6 separate regions of the Homo sapiens genome follow, and regions 1, 2, 3, 4 and 6 are each linked to region 5. Evidence: promoter capture Hi-C in 16 types of primary human blood cells and fetal thymus (Javierre and others, 2016). All regions are on one chromosome and are shown on one strand. The core of a region is centred on a gene start or on the middle of the fragment in contact, and the rest is flanking DNA. Distances in the headings are between cores, read along the strand shown. Region 1 holds the start of CXXC4-AS1 (CXXC4 antisense RNA 1). Region 2 has its middle 230 kb from the start of TET2. Region 3 has its middle 290 kb from the start of TET2. Region 4 has its middle 190 kb from the start of TET2. Region 5 holds the start of PPA2 (inorganic pyrophosphatase 2). Region 6 has its middle 220 kb from the start of TET2.

What was found. Contacts are between HindIII fragments. The CHiCAGO score rates a contact against its expected background, and 5 or more counts as called.
Region 1: a contact is called between the fragment with the promoter of CXXC4-AS1 here and the fragment with the promoter of PPA2 in region 5, in 4 of 17 cell types (naive CD8 T cells, megakaryocytes, total CD8 T cells and 1 more). The highest score is 11.1, in naive CD8 T cells.
Region 2: a fragment that was not itself captured here is called in contact with the fragment with the promoter of PPA2 in region 5 in 2 of 17 cell types (neutrophils and megakaryocytes); the score reaches 5.2 in neutrophils.
Region 3: a fragment that was not itself captured here is called in contact with the fragment with the promoter of PPA2 in region 5 in 4 of 17 cell types (fetal thymus, M0 macrophages, M2 macrophages and 1 more); the score reaches 10.2 in fetal thymus.
Region 4: a contact is called between a fragment that was not itself captured here and the fragment with the promoter of PPA2 in region 5, in 1 of 17 cell types (naive CD8 T cells). The highest score is 5.1, in naive CD8 T cells.
Region 6: a contact is called between a fragment that was not itself captured here and the fragment with the promoter of PPA2 in region 5, in 7 of 17 cell types (fetal thymus, M2 macrophages, M1 macrophages and 4 more). The highest score is 13.2, in fetal thymus.

The regions. Positions count from the first base shown.
Region 1 is chr4:104,489,631-104,492,383 of GRCh38, forward strand. It overlaps CXXC4-AS1 (CXXC4 antisense RNA 1), which reads left to right and starts at 1,335. Exons shown (of 10, transcript NR_125926.1): 1 at 1,335-1,430. It overlaps CXXC4 (CXXC finger protein 4), which reads right to left. Exons shown (of 3, transcript NM_025212.4): 2 at 1,114-2,429. The coding sequence starts at 2,172. RefSeq lists an enhancer at 2,702-2,751. The HindIII fragment of the contact is 2,978 bases long and covers 1,003-2,753 here.
Region 2 is chr4:104,911,143-104,913,975 of GRCh38, forward strand. No RefSeq gene overlaps it. Among named protein-coding and RNA genes, the nearest start is that of TET2, 230 kb to the right of the region's middle. The HindIII fragment of the contact is 7,130 bases long and covers 1-2,833 here.
Region 3 is chr4:104,859,158-104,861,979 of GRCh38, forward strand. No RefSeq gene overlaps it. Among named protein-coding and RNA genes, the nearest start is that of TET2, 290 kb to the right of the region's middle. The HindIII fragment of the contact is 933 bases long and covers 845-1,777 here.
Region 4 is chr4:104,951,733-104,954,498 of GRCh38, forward strand. No RefSeq gene overlaps it. Among named protein-coding and RNA genes, the nearest start is that of TET2, 190 kb to the right of the region's middle. The HindIII fragment of the contact is 4,868 bases long and covers 1-2,766 here.
Region 5 is chr4:105,472,612-105,475,311 of GRCh38, forward strand. It overlaps PPA2 (inorganic pyrophosphatase 2), which reads right to left and starts at 1,451. Exons shown (of 12, transcript NM_176869.3): 1 at 1,283-1,451. The coding sequence starts at 1,439. RefSeq lists enhancers at 632-801, 1,092-1,211 and a silencer at 1,432-1,641. The HindIII fragment of the contact is 2,034 bases long and covers 736-2,700 here.
Region 6 is chr4:104,927,609-104,930,470 of GRCh38, forward strand. No RefSeq gene overlaps it. Among named protein-coding and RNA genes, the nearest start is that of TET2, 220 kb to the right of the region's middle. The HindIII fragment of the contact is 4,532 bases long and covers 1-2,862 here.

The sequences.
Region 1 (2,753 bases), core at 85-2,584, 980 kb before region 5:
CGAGACTAACTATAAGTACTTGTCCAGATTTCTTTGTTTAATATACCACCAAAGTCATTTACCTGTGATTTTTCATTTTTCCCCATTTTTGTTTTGATCAGGACACAATACAAAATTTTTATCAAAGGTATCAATCTCTGTATTTAGCATAATTCATAACCTAATTTAACAATTACTTTAGTGAGCATCTGTACAATATCTGTTTTAAAGACCTATAGGTAAAAGAAACTATTATTGACCATATAAGGTATCAACCAAAACTGTGCTTGGTGTATACACCAACTTTGTAACCACAAAATGGTTACTTTGTCCAATGCAGAGCCCAGGGGAAATACTTTTTTTGTAACTGAGTTTTAGAAATTATTCATTCTAAAACCACATAAAATAATTTTTAAACAAAATCACTCTTATCTGCCCTGAAATTAACTAATTGTATCCCTTTATTCTAAGTCACATCTCCTCAAAATTTGCAGGTAGAAATCCGCTTCCTACACAGTTTCAGCTTTCTCCAAAAATATCAGATACGCAGAAAATAAAATAGAAAACATTCTGCCTTGATGAGTAGAAAAATGATTCTAGAAAAGGGTAGGAAATCCCCTTCTGAATCCAGGTGTTTCAACTTCATTGAATACTGCTGTGTGGTTTGTTACCGGTTTTTTAATGAGAACAGGCTTGTGTACCACAAACTGTGTCCTCACTGTTATAAATGGGCCACTAACTTAGCCAGTAAACTTGTATAGGATGTGATGTGTCCAGTCCTTTGGGCAAGATGCCCCACCCTTTTTAATGAGGAGGAGGGGGCATTTTAAACCACCAAGGGAAAATATTGAGCATATTGAATGTGAAACTTCTGATTCTTCAATTACATTATTTTTCCCCCAGGGATAAAAAGGAGGGCACTCTCTCTATCAGAAGGGCGGTGTCACGTGAAGTGCAGCTGGTGCGGGTGGTGGAGAGGCCAAGCCTTTCGCAAACCACCTACAACTCTTACCACCTGAATGAAGCTTCTGAGAAGGGGTACTGCATCTTGAAGCCAGACAAGAATCCCTGAAGGGGAGAGGGAGTGAGGAGGGAAGGGGGGAGACTGGGAAACAAGAAATCATCTCCTCTGACCTCTAGTGAAGTGCCAGGTTTTTTCTTTAGCTCTTCACATTTTCTAAATTTGCAGATCTGGTGTCCCGTTTTGCGGTTCCTGCAACTGCTGCAGACGCCACAGTTGATGAGCCTCTTGCAGGGCACGCAGACCCCACACCTTTTCCTCTTCTTCTTGGCTGGGTTGGCTCCGCCAGCTCCCCCTGAGGAGGACGAGGAGGAGGAGGAATGATTCTGCGGGCAGTCTGCCAGATTGGCAATTTGAAACGCACTGTCTGTGACGGCTGCTGAGGCTGCTGCGGGGGAGTGAAGGGCTGTCATGACGATGACCCCTGGAGGTAATGAGATGCCCCCTAAAGCCGGGATAGCGGAAAAAGTCCCCACGCGCTCGGGGAGATTCATTATCTCTGCTTCAGCAGCGCCGCATTTGAGCTTGTTCATGCATTCCCCCGCCAAAGGTCTGCAGTGTTCAGGGGATAAGGTGGAGAGGAAATTAGTATTTGCCATTTGCAACGACGGCTCTGGCGGGCAGCCAGCTTTCCCCAGCCTCTGGGAGTCGTTTCGGTGGTGCATGCTGGTCCTGCTGCCGCCGCCGCCGCCGCCGCCGCCACCGCCGGCGGGGAGGATCGCCGAGGAGGAGGAGGCGGAGGAGGAGGCGGCGGCGGAGGAGGATTTCCTGCCGCCCCCACCACCCCCGCCCCCGCCTCCGCCGCCGCCGCCGCCGCCGCCACCCCCCCCGCCGCCGCCCCCGCCCCCGCCGCTGCCCCAGAGCATGGCGGTGGCGGCGGCGGCGGTGGCCGCGTTGTCGCAGTTCCAGGGGGACATGCCGATGCGCGCGGCGGCCGCGGCGGCGGCGGCGCTGCTGGGGAAGATGGGGGTGGTGATGCGCGCGATCTTGGCCGCCTGTGGGAAGGCGCCCCCGTTGGTCTTGTAGAAGGAGGTGGCAAAGGAGCGGTAGCGCTCCATTTCCGAGTTGTAATCCACAAGGCTGTTCAGAGCCCCCTCGGGCAAGTGGCTTTCCTTGGGCAAGCCCGGGGCCTCCGGGCTCGGCCCGGGCTCCACGCAGACATTGGTGTTCATGGTGCAGGGGGGGAAGAAGGGGTGCAGGGTGGAAGTGGGGACCGCCTGGTCCGACACCTGGGTGGAAAAGGGGGAAAGGTGGGGGGGAGGGAAGGGAGTGATGGTGGTGTTGGGGTGGGGGCCGAGGCGGGTGGGGAAAGTGGGTTCGGGTGGGGAGAGCAAGGTGAGGGCTGCTTTATTCCTCTCTGGGGCTCATTTCCACAGACGGTGAATTCCCAGGCAGCGTCTTCCTTTGCATTATCCTCCAACTGTTACAACTAAAATAAAGAAAGTCATTCCAACGAGCTGCACGAGGAAAAAGATTAAAAATAAACAACCTCCCTCACTAACCCACCGCAGACACCGAAAGCTCCCACATTCTTCCATCAGGTCGTTTGCATAAGAATCATCAAGACGTGACCCCCCCCAGCCCATCCCCCCCAACTCTCCCAACCCCCGCTCCCTCCCTCCCCACAGCAAACCACAGCTCCTCCCCCCTATTCTTATAACCCTCCTGAGAAAATGTATTAATAGCCAGGATACCCAGGGAAAGAAGGAAGACGGGGGTGACAAACGCCTAAGGAAAAGGGCAATTGGAGTGC
Region 2 (2,833 bases), core at 103-2,602, 560 kb before region 5:
CTAAAATTTCATAAATATTTAGCTCTGATTATATTTCACCTTTTTGACATATTTGATTGTTTATCATTTCACAGTTCTTAAAAGTGTTCTTTTAATTTAAAGTGTTTAAAGTGTTTTTAAAGTGCTCTTTAATTCTATTTTGGTTTCTGTGACCTATCCTTTTCTGCCTTTTTTTTTTCCTTTCTAGGGGTCCATTTTTCACTCTTTTGCAGACTGCTCTCTCTGCTGTTCATTAAGCGACCTCTGTGCTCTTCTCCCTCTGAACTGTCTTCCCAAAATATTTTATCCACTATTCCTCCTGCCTCATGGCTTCAACCATCACCTATAAGCTGATGATTGCCCTATATGTGCCTGCTTTCCACATCTCTGTCCCAAGCTCCTGCCTATTGGATAAATTCACTGGGTTGTTCTGAGTGCCATCCAAAACTCCACCCACTTTAACCCAAGATAGAAAGCTGGAACACATCCCAGACTCCTTACTCTACCTCATTCTGCTCTGCTATCCCACTAGTGATAGCTTATTGGTTCTACCTCTAAAATATGTATTTCTTCTTATTTCTGCCACTGCCATAGTTCAGTTCCTCCGGGCAGATCAATGGAATAGCCTCCATATTATTCAGAGTCTTCTCAGTGTTGTGATAAAGAATGTTTGTGGCAAATGCTGGAACCAAAATCTCAGTGGTTTAGCACAATAAACATGTATTTCTTGTTCATGTCACAATCCAGCACAGGTTGGTGGACAGGATCTGCTTCATTCAGGTGACCAGGCTTCTTCCTTCTAGTAGTTATACCACCCCCTAGTAGCTTAAAATTTCCCCCAAACCCTTGTATCTGGCAGGCAGGTGAGGGAAGGGAGAGTGGAGTTTGGTTATGGGCTTGCTGTATATACAGTGGTGGAGCAGGGACAGCGTAACTACAATTAAAATTCCCATTCAAAAAAGGGAATCAGAGGATGTACATGTTCACTAGGCCACTACAATTCTACAATCCTGTTTGGCAGGCCTCGAGATGTCCCCTAGCCTGGGGAGAGGATAAATTTGTGGATTAGATTTTAATTCTGCTCTCTGGAAATAAGTCTTTTGTCTTTTTCTTGTTTGACCCTCAGCCTTTCCCTTTAGAAGTTCTTATTGTTTATTTATTCCTTTTGGACACAGCTGAAATGAGTGTAGCCAAAGTAAAAAGGTGATTTTAAAGGTCAGACAAAGCTGTTTTAATCAGATATTTTGGATTTCTTGACAATACAAGTTCTTCAAAATCTTGGTAGGCTTCTGTTGTATTTGCTTCTATGTACAATTCTCAGGTCTTTTCTCCTTTTTTTTTTTTCTCTCTCTCTCTCTCCAGCTCTCTTTGGCCATTAATCTGATCTGTATCTAAGTCATAGTGTTCAGCTAAAAAGTCTTTCTGGGCCTTGTGGTTCTGTGTGGGATCTAGAAGCAGATGGATTTCCACCATCGTTCACTCAAGTCTGGATACTTTCTATTGTTTTCCATCTGGCTTGGAAACTAGCCATTTCTGTCTGAGTTCATCTCTTTCTTGAAACACCTTACCAAAGGAAGCCAATAAGAGCTATGACACAGTAACACTGTGGTTCTTTTAAAACCAGTCCCCACAAGCAGCAGTTTTCAAAGCATAATCTGCACAATTCTGGAAATCCCAAAGACTCTTTTAGTGGATCCATGAGGTCAAAATTATTTTCATAATAATATTAAGATGTATTTGCTTTTTCTACTGTATTGACATTTGCACCAATGGTGCCAAAGCAATGGTGAGTAAAACTGTTGGTGCTTGTATTCATCTGTTATCATGTTGTTAATAAAGACATACCTGAGACCGGGTAATTTATAAAGAAATGAGGTTTAATAGACTCACAGTTCCACATGACTGGGGAGGCCTCACAAATCACGGTAGACGGCAAGGAGGAGCAAGTCATGTCTTACATGGATGGCAACAGTCAAGAAAAAGAGAGCTTCTGCAGGGGACCTCCTCTTTATAAAACCATCAGATCTCATAAGACTTATTCACTGTCATGAGAAAGACTCACCCCCATCATTCAATTACCTCTCACTAGGTCCCTCCCATGACATGTGGGCATTGTGGGAGCTACAATTCAAGATGAGATTTGGGTTGTGACACAGCAAAACCATATCAGTTCTTTAGCATAAATCAAGGCAAAATTACCAAATTGTATCATATCATTTTATTATGTCATTGCATCACTTTCATCACCATGATCTCACAGGTTTAAAAAGTTTTGCTTAAGAATACCCTAATGAAACAGTTAAAATTTATGCATTTTCTTAAAGCTCAACACTTGAGTTACAAATCTTTTAAGTATTCTGTGGGACTACAAGGAAAGAACACATAAAGCACTTCTGCTGCATACCCAAGTACAATGGTTGTCTTGAGGAAAAGCAATGTGTGATTGTTTGAGTTGCAAACTGAACTTGTCTCTTTTTCGTGGAATACCACTTTTGCTTGAAAGAACAAGTGATAAACAAAATATGGTTATTCATACTTGGATATTTGGCAGTCATTTTCTTGAAAATAAGTGAAGTGAGCCTGTCACTTGAAGGCAAACAACCTGACGGTATTTGGTGCCAATGATAAAATCTGAGCTTTCAACTGAAAATTAGAATTTTGGAAAACTTGTATCCACTACTGTGAGCTTGACAGCTTCTGAATACTTAAAGAATTTTTATGAGATCCATGGTGATATTAACAAATGTTATTTTAAAAAATATTATATAAGGAAATGTGCCTATTACATAACTCAGTGAAATAATATTTTCCAATCAATACAAGATATTATAAAATCATGCATAGGTAAAGGATC
Region 3 (2,822 bases), core at 61-2,560, 610 kb before region 5:
CCATCAACTTACATTTATGCCTCATACCTTACTCTAAATTTGAGGAAGGTATGTAAGTTTTGTTTTTAAAGTAAACATAGAATTAAAGTAAAGGAGATAAGGAGTAGTCCCATCAAAGAATTTCATCACTTGCTTTGCTTAAATATGAATTTTAAAGCAAGATTTGCAAATAACAGAGATAAATGAATTTGTTTTTATTATTGATTCATTAAAGGGTACTGGTAATCTCTGAAAGCAAAAGAAATCTCCACAATTTTAAAGAGAACATTTAAAATGTACCTACATGTAGGAATGAATATATTCCTTTCTATCTGACTGAAATCTGTGATAGAATATTTATTTTTAGGAGCCTCTCAAGCTCTATATAAGTGGAAAATTATCTCAATCCCTGTGAACCTAGTTCAAGATAAATAACTGCTGCTTTTGCCGTGCTAACTCTGTCCTTACTTTTTACCTATGTTTTACCTTGCAAATGACACCCCCACCCCCGACTACCTACAGAGATATATGAGGGCACCGCTTTAAAACCCCACTTTGGCTAAGCTGAGTGGAGCTGGAGCTATATTACAACTGCGGTCCCTCCCTTCTCTCTCTAGTGCAGGCAGCAGCACTCAAGCAGTTAACCACCTTCTAAGTGTCCTGGTAATACATTCCTGCCGCAACACTCCTCAGCTCTCCAGAATCGGATTTCTGAAAATGTCTCTACACAGAGACATTCGCTTCCCCGCTCAGCAGAAAGGGCTGTAGTCAGGGCCAAGGAGAGTAAAATATGAGCTTACGAATGTGGGGCAGGACATACATTGTTTTTTTTTTTGTTTTTTTTTTTTTTGACTCAGAGAACTCAAGCTTCTGCACGACAGTGTGAGTCTCCAGCAAACGCCAGTCTTTAAAATGCACATAAAGGATGACAATTTGTTCCCTGAATATCACTGGCTGGCAGAGCCCCTGAACAAATTATTAGAAAGTGTGTGGGTGGAGGAGGATTTAGTCCCAATTATTAACCTACTGGAAGCTATATATATGCAACTATAATCATATATACTCATTATCATATCTCCAGTTGCCTCCAAATGCTGGCATTTAATGAGTTAAAGTCCAATGACTATGGCAATTAAGGTTATAAGTAAAATACTCCTCAGATATTTGACTGAAAGTATATGCTTGCTCTTCGTACTTTGTAGGAAGAGCACAGAGAGGCAGGAAAGGAAAGGAATGGGTTTTGGAGAGCACATCAAGCCAAAATAACACACTTGTTCTGACCATCCTAGGTACTGTGACAATAATTAGGAGGAAGAATACCCTTCTGTGGGTTGGAAAAGCCAGGAAGAAGAGACTTAAGTTAAGCTAGCATACATCAAAAATAATTGACAATGGTTAGGCTTCATTGTAGAGAAGCCTGCACTGGCATTGCAGCCACCAGCCCACCACCCACCTAAGAATTATTATTTGAAAAGGATGTCAGAGGATTATAGAAGATCCTTGTGTCTGCTCCAATTAGGATCAACACTTCTGCTGCTTGCTCACTGAGCATTCAGTAATGATGAAAGCATATTGACCCCTGCTGGAAATGTGTAGAACTGCAGCCTTTTTCTCTGGCCAAATAGGATTTAAAAGGAAGGCATCTTCTAAACTACCATTTACACGTATCAAGCCTAAGGGGTATGTGTTTGTTTGTTTGCTTATTTGTTTTAAAGAAGGCTTTATATCACAATGCCAATATGAAACTAGTTTACTCATTGCAAACATTATTTCAAAACATTTCACGAACCCAAGACAAAGCTTCTTCTAATGATATAGCTTTATATTTTTTTGTACAGAGCTTAATCACTATCTTGTTTAAAATTGTAAGCAACAGCCAGTGAGCATCAAACTTGGGTCCTCTCGATTATTTCTTAGAAGTCTCTGACTTACTGACCTCAAAATATATTATTTTCAAAGAAACTTAAGATCAGGAAAATGTTCTAACACTCTAGGTAATTATTTTGTTTCCACTCTAAATACTATCCCAAGGGTTAAATCTCTGTGACAGTTTTCTCCTAAGATATTTTCCACACAACTAAGGGCTCTAAACTTGTATTGCTATGCTAGAATATTAATCAGACACTCTACCTTCTAAGAATTCTTACAGAAAAGTTCAGGGAAAAAAATATTTTCCAGTATATTTGGGGGTCACCAAGTTTCCACCTAAGTGCTTAGAGGACATGGAACAGTTAACTCATACAGTACATGACTTGTTATTTTGTGGAATGTACTAAAATGATGTAGATATTATAATTCTTGCTCTGTGTTAGGGGTTTTAGAGAGGAAGTATTTCTCGATATAAGTTAACAGAATAATTATCAACGTCAGCAGTCAATATAAGCTCTCCAGCAGCAGCTAGACTATGGTCTCTTGGCGTGTTCTATTAGCTGGCCCACTCATGAGGTTCAAAGCTTTGCCAAGACTAGGAGGCCATTCTGTGTACAGATCAGTAGCCTGGCTCCATATAATGGTTGCCACAGCACCCCTCAACTCAACCCATTGTTCTGAAAATGCTATCAGTTAAATGCTATCCATAAACACTATCAGTTAAATACAAAAAAAAAATTGCAAGCTCTATTCTTATTCCATGTAGAGAAATTTGAAGAACATATTGTATTTATGTGAGTTCAGTGGTTATATTAATATGATGTTCCTTTCTTTTAAAACAAATAAAAAGCACCTCCATGATTAGGGTAAATTAAGGACAGGCATGCCTCAGAGATCTTGTGGGTTCTGTTCCAGAAAGCTGCAATAAAGGAAATATCACAATAAAGCGAGTCACATAATTTTTTTGTTTCCCT
Region 4 (2,766 bases), core at 212-2,711, 520 kb before region 5:
CTGCTTCACAAAGGTTTGGTACACATCGGAAAAAAATGGATATTACTTAGAAAGTTATAGATAGCACAGTAAGATTTTATAGGACATAAATACAGAAACTTTTTTTTTTTTGAGATGGAGTCTCACTCTGTCACTCAGGCTGGTGTTCAGTGGCATGATCTCAGCTCACTGCAACCTTCACCTCCCGGGTTCAAGTGATTCTCCTGCCTCAGCCTCTCTAGTAGCTGGTACTACAGGTGCATGCCACCATGCCCAGCTAATTTTTGTATTTTTAGTAGAGACAGGGTTTCACCATGTTGGCCAGGCTTGTCTCGAACTCCTGACTTTGTGATCCACCTGTCTCAGCCTCCCAAAGTGTTGGGATTACAAGGGTGAGCCACGGCACCCAGCTCAGAAACCATTTTTTTTTTAACTATTATTGTTTTAAAACACGCTCTATATCCTTACTTTCATAGAATCTAAGGTCTATTTATCCAAACCTCTAAATCTAATATTTTCTATAACATTATTTGCAATTAGTCTGGCGTCTATTTAAACACTTTTAGAGAAAAAGTTGTCTGCGATGATCCTATCCAGTCATCTTATGACAATTACAATTAATAAGTCCTTCTTCGGAAAACTTATATGTGGGCATCTTATGGATGGGGTGAAAATGAGTATAGAATTCTGCTTCCTAGAAGTATATTTTCCTCTATATCATTATATGCAAGCAAAAATACACTCACCATTTTTCTTCCCTTTGGAATTACGCAAGAAGAACTATAAGCCCCAAAATTTAGTTAACTGAAGATAAGTAACATGTTCTCAACTCAATATACCTCAGACTAAATATGGCCAGTTCTTCTTACTGCCCTTCACACTAACTTCTACTCATTTGTTGTCTCAGTCTGTTTGTGTTTCTTTAACAAAATACGTGAGACTGGGCAGTATTTTCTACAGTTCTAGAAGTTGGGAAGTCCAAAATTATGGTGTTGGCATTTGGTGTCTGGTGAGGTCCTTCTTGCCATGTCCTCACCTAAGGCAGAAGAGCAAAAAGTGAGGGTGACAGTTCCCTGGTACCTCTTTTATAAAGGCACTCATCCCATCCCTAAGGGCTCCACCATGGCAAGTTAAGTTTCAACATACAAATCTTGGGAGATACGTTCAGACCATAGCATCTGCCTGATCACCTTTCCCTTTCCCATCAATATTCACTTCCACCTCTTCAGAAAATCCCTCTTACTTACTAATGACACTAGGCAGGTTACTTAACCACTCCAATCATCAGTCTTTTCAGTTGCAAAATGGGGATAATGCTACTTAACTCAGAATTGAAGATTAAAACGCAGTGACCAGTCTATAGCACTCAATAAATGGTGGTTATTACATAAATCCAGCACATAAAATAGGCAATGTATTTTAAATCCAATCATATTTTTAAAAATGTATCTCATAGACAGGCCACTAGCTACCATTTTGGAGTGAAGATGATTATTAGAGGAAGAGCTAGAAAACTGAGAAAGAGTTCACTCATTGCTAATTTATCTTAAAGAGGAAATGAATATCTGTGAGTTTGAAACAATATCTCTAAATGAGAATAATTAGGAAAATATCAATTTTATCCATTTGTAAACCCTTTAAGGGGATGATTCTTGGAAGAAATCAGTATTATTGATACCATGGTCTGTTTCTACCCATATTTCTGACATCAAATGCATAGTTTTGTTTTGTTTTGTTTTTCCCATACCAACAACTAATTCTCTAACTCTCCAGACACCAACTGGGTATCCAATGATTCCATTTATTTTTAGCACTAACTAACCAGAGTTAATACAGACCCTACTCAGTCCCACAAGACTACCCTCACTTCAGATACCAATGCAAGTCCTGAGTCTCCTATAGTTCTGTTCAATGGACTATAAATCAAGAGTTTCCATGACCCCCTCCTCAGGCTCAATAATTTACTTGAACAGCTCTAAGCCAGAATCTCCTTAAATACCATTGTTTAGGAGTTTTATGGAGATTCCCCTATGAATACATGAGATTCCCCTATGAATACATGAGATTGACTGAGTTATTAACCATTTGTGATTAATTCAATCTCCAGCCTTTCTCCTCTCTCCAGGGGTCAGGGGCTGGGCTCAAAGTTCCAACCCTTTAATCATATGGTTGTTTCGTCTGGCAACCAGCTCCCATCCTGAAGCTATCTAGGGACCCACCACAGGTCGTCTTATTAGCATAAACTCAGGTATGTGACAGGAGCTTATTATGAATAAGAAACTACTCTTACTCCCATCACTAGGGAAATTCCAAGGCTTTTAGAAGTTCTATGCCAGAAACTAGGGATAAAACCCAAATATATATTTCTTAATATATCAAAATATCACAGTTGAATCAAGTTCCACATGCTATTCTAATCTTCTTTGACAAAGTGAAAAATCAGATAAAAGTAATGATGAACACACCTTTAATTCTGATCACAGAGCATACTTATCCACAAAAGGTAAAATCTACCTATCAAACAACAATTATAGGGATATAAACTTCACTAAAACTACATCCAGAGGGTGGTTGATACTTAACCAGGAGACACATAACCATGTTCCATAGATTCTAGTCATGTAGGAGTTAGAATTGGTTCTAGTGTAATTTTATGATTTTATCCATGTGTCTTGCATATGCATTTTTGGAATCATACCTGATTTCATATTCCCTTCTGCACACTAGCACCTTATATATTAGAATGAAGAATGTGGTAAAAAGCAAGGATGCATTTTATTTATACTA
Region 5 (2,700 bases), core at 201-2,700:
TTCACCTGATCAGTCTTAACCAAAGATAGAAGAAAATATGTGGCATAGGGTGAAAACTGCAACCAATTTTGAAGAAAATAGAAATTCTAGTACTAGTTGCATTATAATCACACGACTTTAGGCAAACTCTTCTTTCCCACAAAATAATCCTCGACCCTAAACTCATGTAGCATAACTGCAAATCTCTCATAAATTACAAATATCTATAATGATTATCGGTATTAACAATAGTAATTTATATTTTAGGCCCTGTGACTAATCAGTTTACATATATAATGTCATGTAATACTTGCAGCCCTATTTTACGGATGAGAAAAAACAAGGCTTAGCAACTTAAACTCGTCCGGGGTCACAGAGTTAAGACGTGAAGAACTCGAGGGCCTGCTTAGAACTGAAAGCCTCCAGAGCCAGTGCTCCGAAAAGGGGAGCGATAATGCAAGGCCCACTTTGATACTACCACTCCAAGGCTCTGCAGTCAGTGGGGAGTGAAGGCAAGCGACCGACATCGCTATTTTCTGTTACGGTTAACGTACACAGTGAAACAATGGGGTACACGGAACAATGAGTCACGAAGACCTGGGTCCTTTCTCTGAGCTCGGCAACTCAGGGACCCCCCCGAAGTCGCTTAGCCTTCTGGGCTTGTTCAGCTTGGGGAGGAAAAGGGGCTGCTCCGGAACCAACGAGGCTTTGGATGGTGGATCACACTCAGGGTGTAAACTTGTGCGTACCAAGTCAAGCTTCTGGGGAAAGAACCTTCATCAGAGTCCCTCCAAAAAAAGAAGACGCGCTGGATTAGGCATCCGCAAAGTTCCGCCTGCCTCTCCGACGTCAGGGAGCTCCCGCAGTAGGAGGTTTCTTACGCCTCTAGGAAGGCCGGCGTGTGGGCGGGCTCTGCCTTCCCTTCCTCACTGAGTTGTGTGAACCGGGAACGGCGGCCGGGCCGGCTAATGGCTGCAGGCCGCCGCGGGGTGGCCGCTTGCACTCTGCCTACCCCTCGGGGAGGGCGGCTGGCAGGGCACAGGGCGCTATCTACCCCCCAGCCGGCAGCCCTGCGCCTCTGCTCTCCGCTTTGGGGTCTTGATCCGCCGCCTCCTCGCTGGCAGTTCTCGTGACTCGGTGCGCGCTCCCGCGGGAAGTAAGGTGGCCTGGACCGCGCGGCTACCGCTGAGGGCCCCAAAAAGAGAGAAGGGAGACCGCGCGGGGCGTCCCAAGTGTCCCCCATTCCATCCCCCACCCAGGTTTCTCCGGTGCGCCGCTCGGCGAACCTCCGGGAGCTACTTACTAAAGAAGAGGCGGTAATTCTGCGAGCAGGGCTGGCCGCGCTCCTCAGTGTGGTACAGGGCCATAGCACGGCGCGACCCGGTCCCTGCACTGGTCCCCAACCGCAGGCACGCAGCGGCTGGGGCACCCGTGCGCAGCAGCCGCAGCAGCGCGCTCATGGCGTCAATGACGGTCCTGCTGTGCGCGCGGAGCTACCTGGGGGCTCGGCCGGGCCGCACGCCGGTGCCCCCTACCGTCCGGAGTCATCCCTCCCGCCCCGGCGCTCGGGCTGCGATCCTGGTCCCTGCCAGTGGAATCTGGAACACCAGCCAGTTGTGCGCACTATGCCCTCAGCGAGGCCGCAGCTCAAAGACGAGTGAGACAAGACCCACCACCCCTGAAGAGCTCACTGCCACTCGTTAATTCATACATTTATTCATGCCTTCATTTATCCCGTCAAGAATTACTATCATGATTTTTTAGTATAGTGATGTAATATTGAGTGATTACTCTGTGCCAGGAACTGCTCTAGACCCTGTCCAATATAGGAGATGAGCGCACATGCACGCAAAGACATCACTATAAGACAAAATGATCAGGCCACCACGTGAAAACGGGACGTTGACACCGACTTACAGAGCAAAAAACCCTAAGTAGCTTACTCAAATGCCATCTTCTCCATAAGGCCATTTCCTAACCCAGTAGAGATTATTTATTCTTTCTTTTATTTTATTATTTTTTGTTGTTGTTTTGTTTTTGAGACGGAGTCTCACACTGTTGCCTGGGCTGGAATGCAATGGTACAATCTCGGCTCACTGCAACCTCCGCCTCCTGGGTTCAAGCTATTCTCCTGCCTTAGCCTCCTGAGTAACTGGGATTACAGGCATGCGTCACGACGCCTAGCTAATTTTTGTATTTTTAGTAGAGACAGTTTCCCCATGTTGGTCAGACTGGTCTCGAACTCCCGACCTCCATTGATCCGCCTGCGTTGGCCTCCCAAAGTCCTGGGATTACAGGCGTGAGCCACCGCGCATCGGCCAGGCGGGGTGGCACACACGCCTGTAGTTCCAGCTACTTGGGAGGCTGAGATAGGAGGATGGTTTGGGCCAGTATCCAGGAGAATGGATATTGTAGAACAACCAGTAGTCTGCCACGTGTCATTTTATTTTTTTCTAGTCCATCTTCTTTGGGACTATCATCATCTAGGCTACTTTCCTACTGGGCACCCAGGTTCTTTCAGCATCTCCAATTATCGTGTGATCATTAAAATTGAGATACTGGTCTACCCAAGTTCCAGAAAGGATTCCTAGGAGATATTGTGACTAGCTACTTAGAGACACTCTACTAAGATTATAGATCCTAAAATGTTTTTGTCAACAGTGGTACCTTTGTAATGTGTCAACTTGAATAGGCATAACTATAAGGCAAATGCTCCCATAA
Region 6 (2,862 bases), core at 224-2,723, 540 kb before region 5:
CTTTGGATCTCTAACAACCCAACAGCCACCATTAGTCACAAAAACACATCTGTGTTTAAAAAACTGTCCACAGAAAATTGAAGTGAGTGATCTATACATCACAGAAACAAAAGGAGAGAGAGATGTATATATATATATATATATCCTTTTTCTACACTATTATATATAATAGTAGAGAAAAGCCTCAACACAAGAAATAAGGTTATTACACACAAAACTTAGATATCCCGGCCAGGCATGGTAGCTCATGCCTGTAATCCCAGTACTTTAGGAGACCAAGGCTGGATGATCACTTGAAGCCAGGACTTCAAGACCATCCTGGGTAACATAGTAAGATCTTATCTCTACAAAAAATACAAAAATTAGCTGGGCATGGTGGCACGCACCTGTAGTCCTAGTTACTCAGGAAGCTGAGGCAGGAAAACCACTTGAGCATAGGAGTTTGAAGCTGCAGCAAGCTATGTTCATGCCACTGTACTCCTGCTTAGGTGACAGAGTTAGACTCTGTGGAGAGAAAGGAAAGGAAAGAGGAAAGAGAAAAAGAAAGAGAAAGGAAAGGAAGAGAGAGAGAGAAAGAGAGAAAGAAAAGAAAAAAATAAAGTTAGATATGCAGAGATTTTGAGATGACCTACAGAATTCATATGGATCCACAATCCTTATAGCTAGATCCTTATATGATTGCTCCAAAAATGTACATTCTGGACCTAGCACATTAGCTAGCCCCCCAACAATTCTTAATTTCTAGTAGATATGGCAGAATAATGTTACATGAAATGGTGGTATCAAGTTGTTATATGAGAATGACAACATAGGAATCCTAATAAAATGCTTGTAGATGGTCTTTGAGGTCAGTTAAAAATCACCAAATATTTTTGACGGCAATATCTCTAGTACTTGTACCTCTGTTTATCTGTCATTATCTCAAGTCTTAGTTCCTATTGATTAAATCTATTTAGCAACAGTTATAAAATTTTTCTTCTAGATGTGAAATGGCCATAGGGACTCTACTTCCTGGTTAACATGTCTTAATGAATCACCACATTTTCATGTTTTCCCACAGGAAAGGAACATGGTAAAATAGAAATAGGTTAAGATGTAATGATCTCCCCCTTTCCTGAATATGCCTCTGAATCGCTCTGTGTATACCTCTGCATTCTTTCATTTGCATATAAGGAAACCACTATGGCTTATAGCTTTTACAAACTGATGCCAATAATGGTCACATATCTTACAAAGATCTAGAATTTATTACAAAGTAATTAAAATCAATAACAACAACAAGAAAACAAACTTCCAAAAGGTCAAAACTTTAACCAATCTACATAATCACTAAAATTTAGCACCAAGTATTAAAAGCAAAGACATAAAAGCAATCCTGTGATGAATTTCCATACACATAAATATTCACTAAGTAGGAAAATACCTGATTAAAGAGTTAAAGAAATTTTATTTGTAACACTTTCCTTAAAGGGATTTTTCTTTTCCAAAATAGTATAAATCATTGTATTTTAGACCTCCTACTATCTACTTTATTGGTCTAAAGATTATTGGTACTTTAATGATAAGTTAAATACATTTTAACAGAAAGATAATTAAATGAACACTTGAAGTATTAACATAATTACATATAGTCAGGCAAATTCTGTGTATGAGATGAAATGTCATTCCAAAAGTATCTCATTGCTGTTTTTGTGTCACATTTAGACATGAGACACTGAGTATATACTTGTCGGCTAAGTGTTCACAAATCCTACTAAGGGCATGTATTGGGGGACTTGGCATTGCCAGGTTGTAGAGAGTACTTGCATCTCCTTGCATCAAATTTGGATGAAATTCTAAAACCATATAGGCTGCTCCAGAATACATCCGGCTTCTGGTGGATAAATAGGTCCACCATTTCTGGTTATTTTTCTAAGTAAGTTGTAAAAACCCTCCCTATGTAAGGCCTATTTGACAAGTATTTTTTCTAGTACATAAAACTAGAATATGATAAAAAATTTTTATAAACATAACTCAACCTAAAACTCTTGAAATATCTTATGGTTTATGACAACACACACATTCAATTACTGGAGACACATACTAAATACTACATATTTGTTGATAAAGCTGAAACTCCTAAACCTACCAAAAAGGCCTTCAAGACTGCCACCAATTCCATTTTCTTCCTCCACAGTGGAAGACTAAAAACTGCCAATCAATGACTAATCTCCCCTGTTTCTGCTATCAGAACTTGTCTGTATACAAGAGCAATGTGCTCATCTCTAGGAGGTGATGAACAACCATTCTAAGGTGATAATCACAATGTTCTTTCCCTTTGCCATATAGTCATTTTTTCACTCTCCTTTGCAACTAGGAGGGATATTTTCTAATAAAAGAGACCAATGGAGCTGGACTCTCCCCTTCCCTCTTTCTTCTTCTTCCTGCATGGATATGATGCCTGGTGTTGTGGTAGCCATATTAAAAACCGTGGGGCCTTCAGCCAAAGGGGAAAAAGCCAGCAAATGAAGGAAGGAGAATGCAAGGTAGAAAGAGCCTATATCCTTGACAGCATCATGAACAATGGGAGCAATGCCAGCAATTTTCTATATTCTTACTTCTTGCTCTGTAGGAAAAAATAATTCCTTATTTACTAAAGCCACTGTTGGATTGTGGCTGGCAAGATGTCTGAATAGGAACAGCTCCGGTCTGTAGCTCCCAGCGAGATCAACGCAGAAGGTGGGTGATTTCTGCATTTCCAACTGAGGTGCACAGCTCATCTCACTGGAACTGGTTAGACAGCGGGTGCAGCCCATGGAGAGTGAGCTGAAGCAGGGTGGGATGTCACCTCACACAGGAAGCACAAGGGGTCAGGGAACTCCC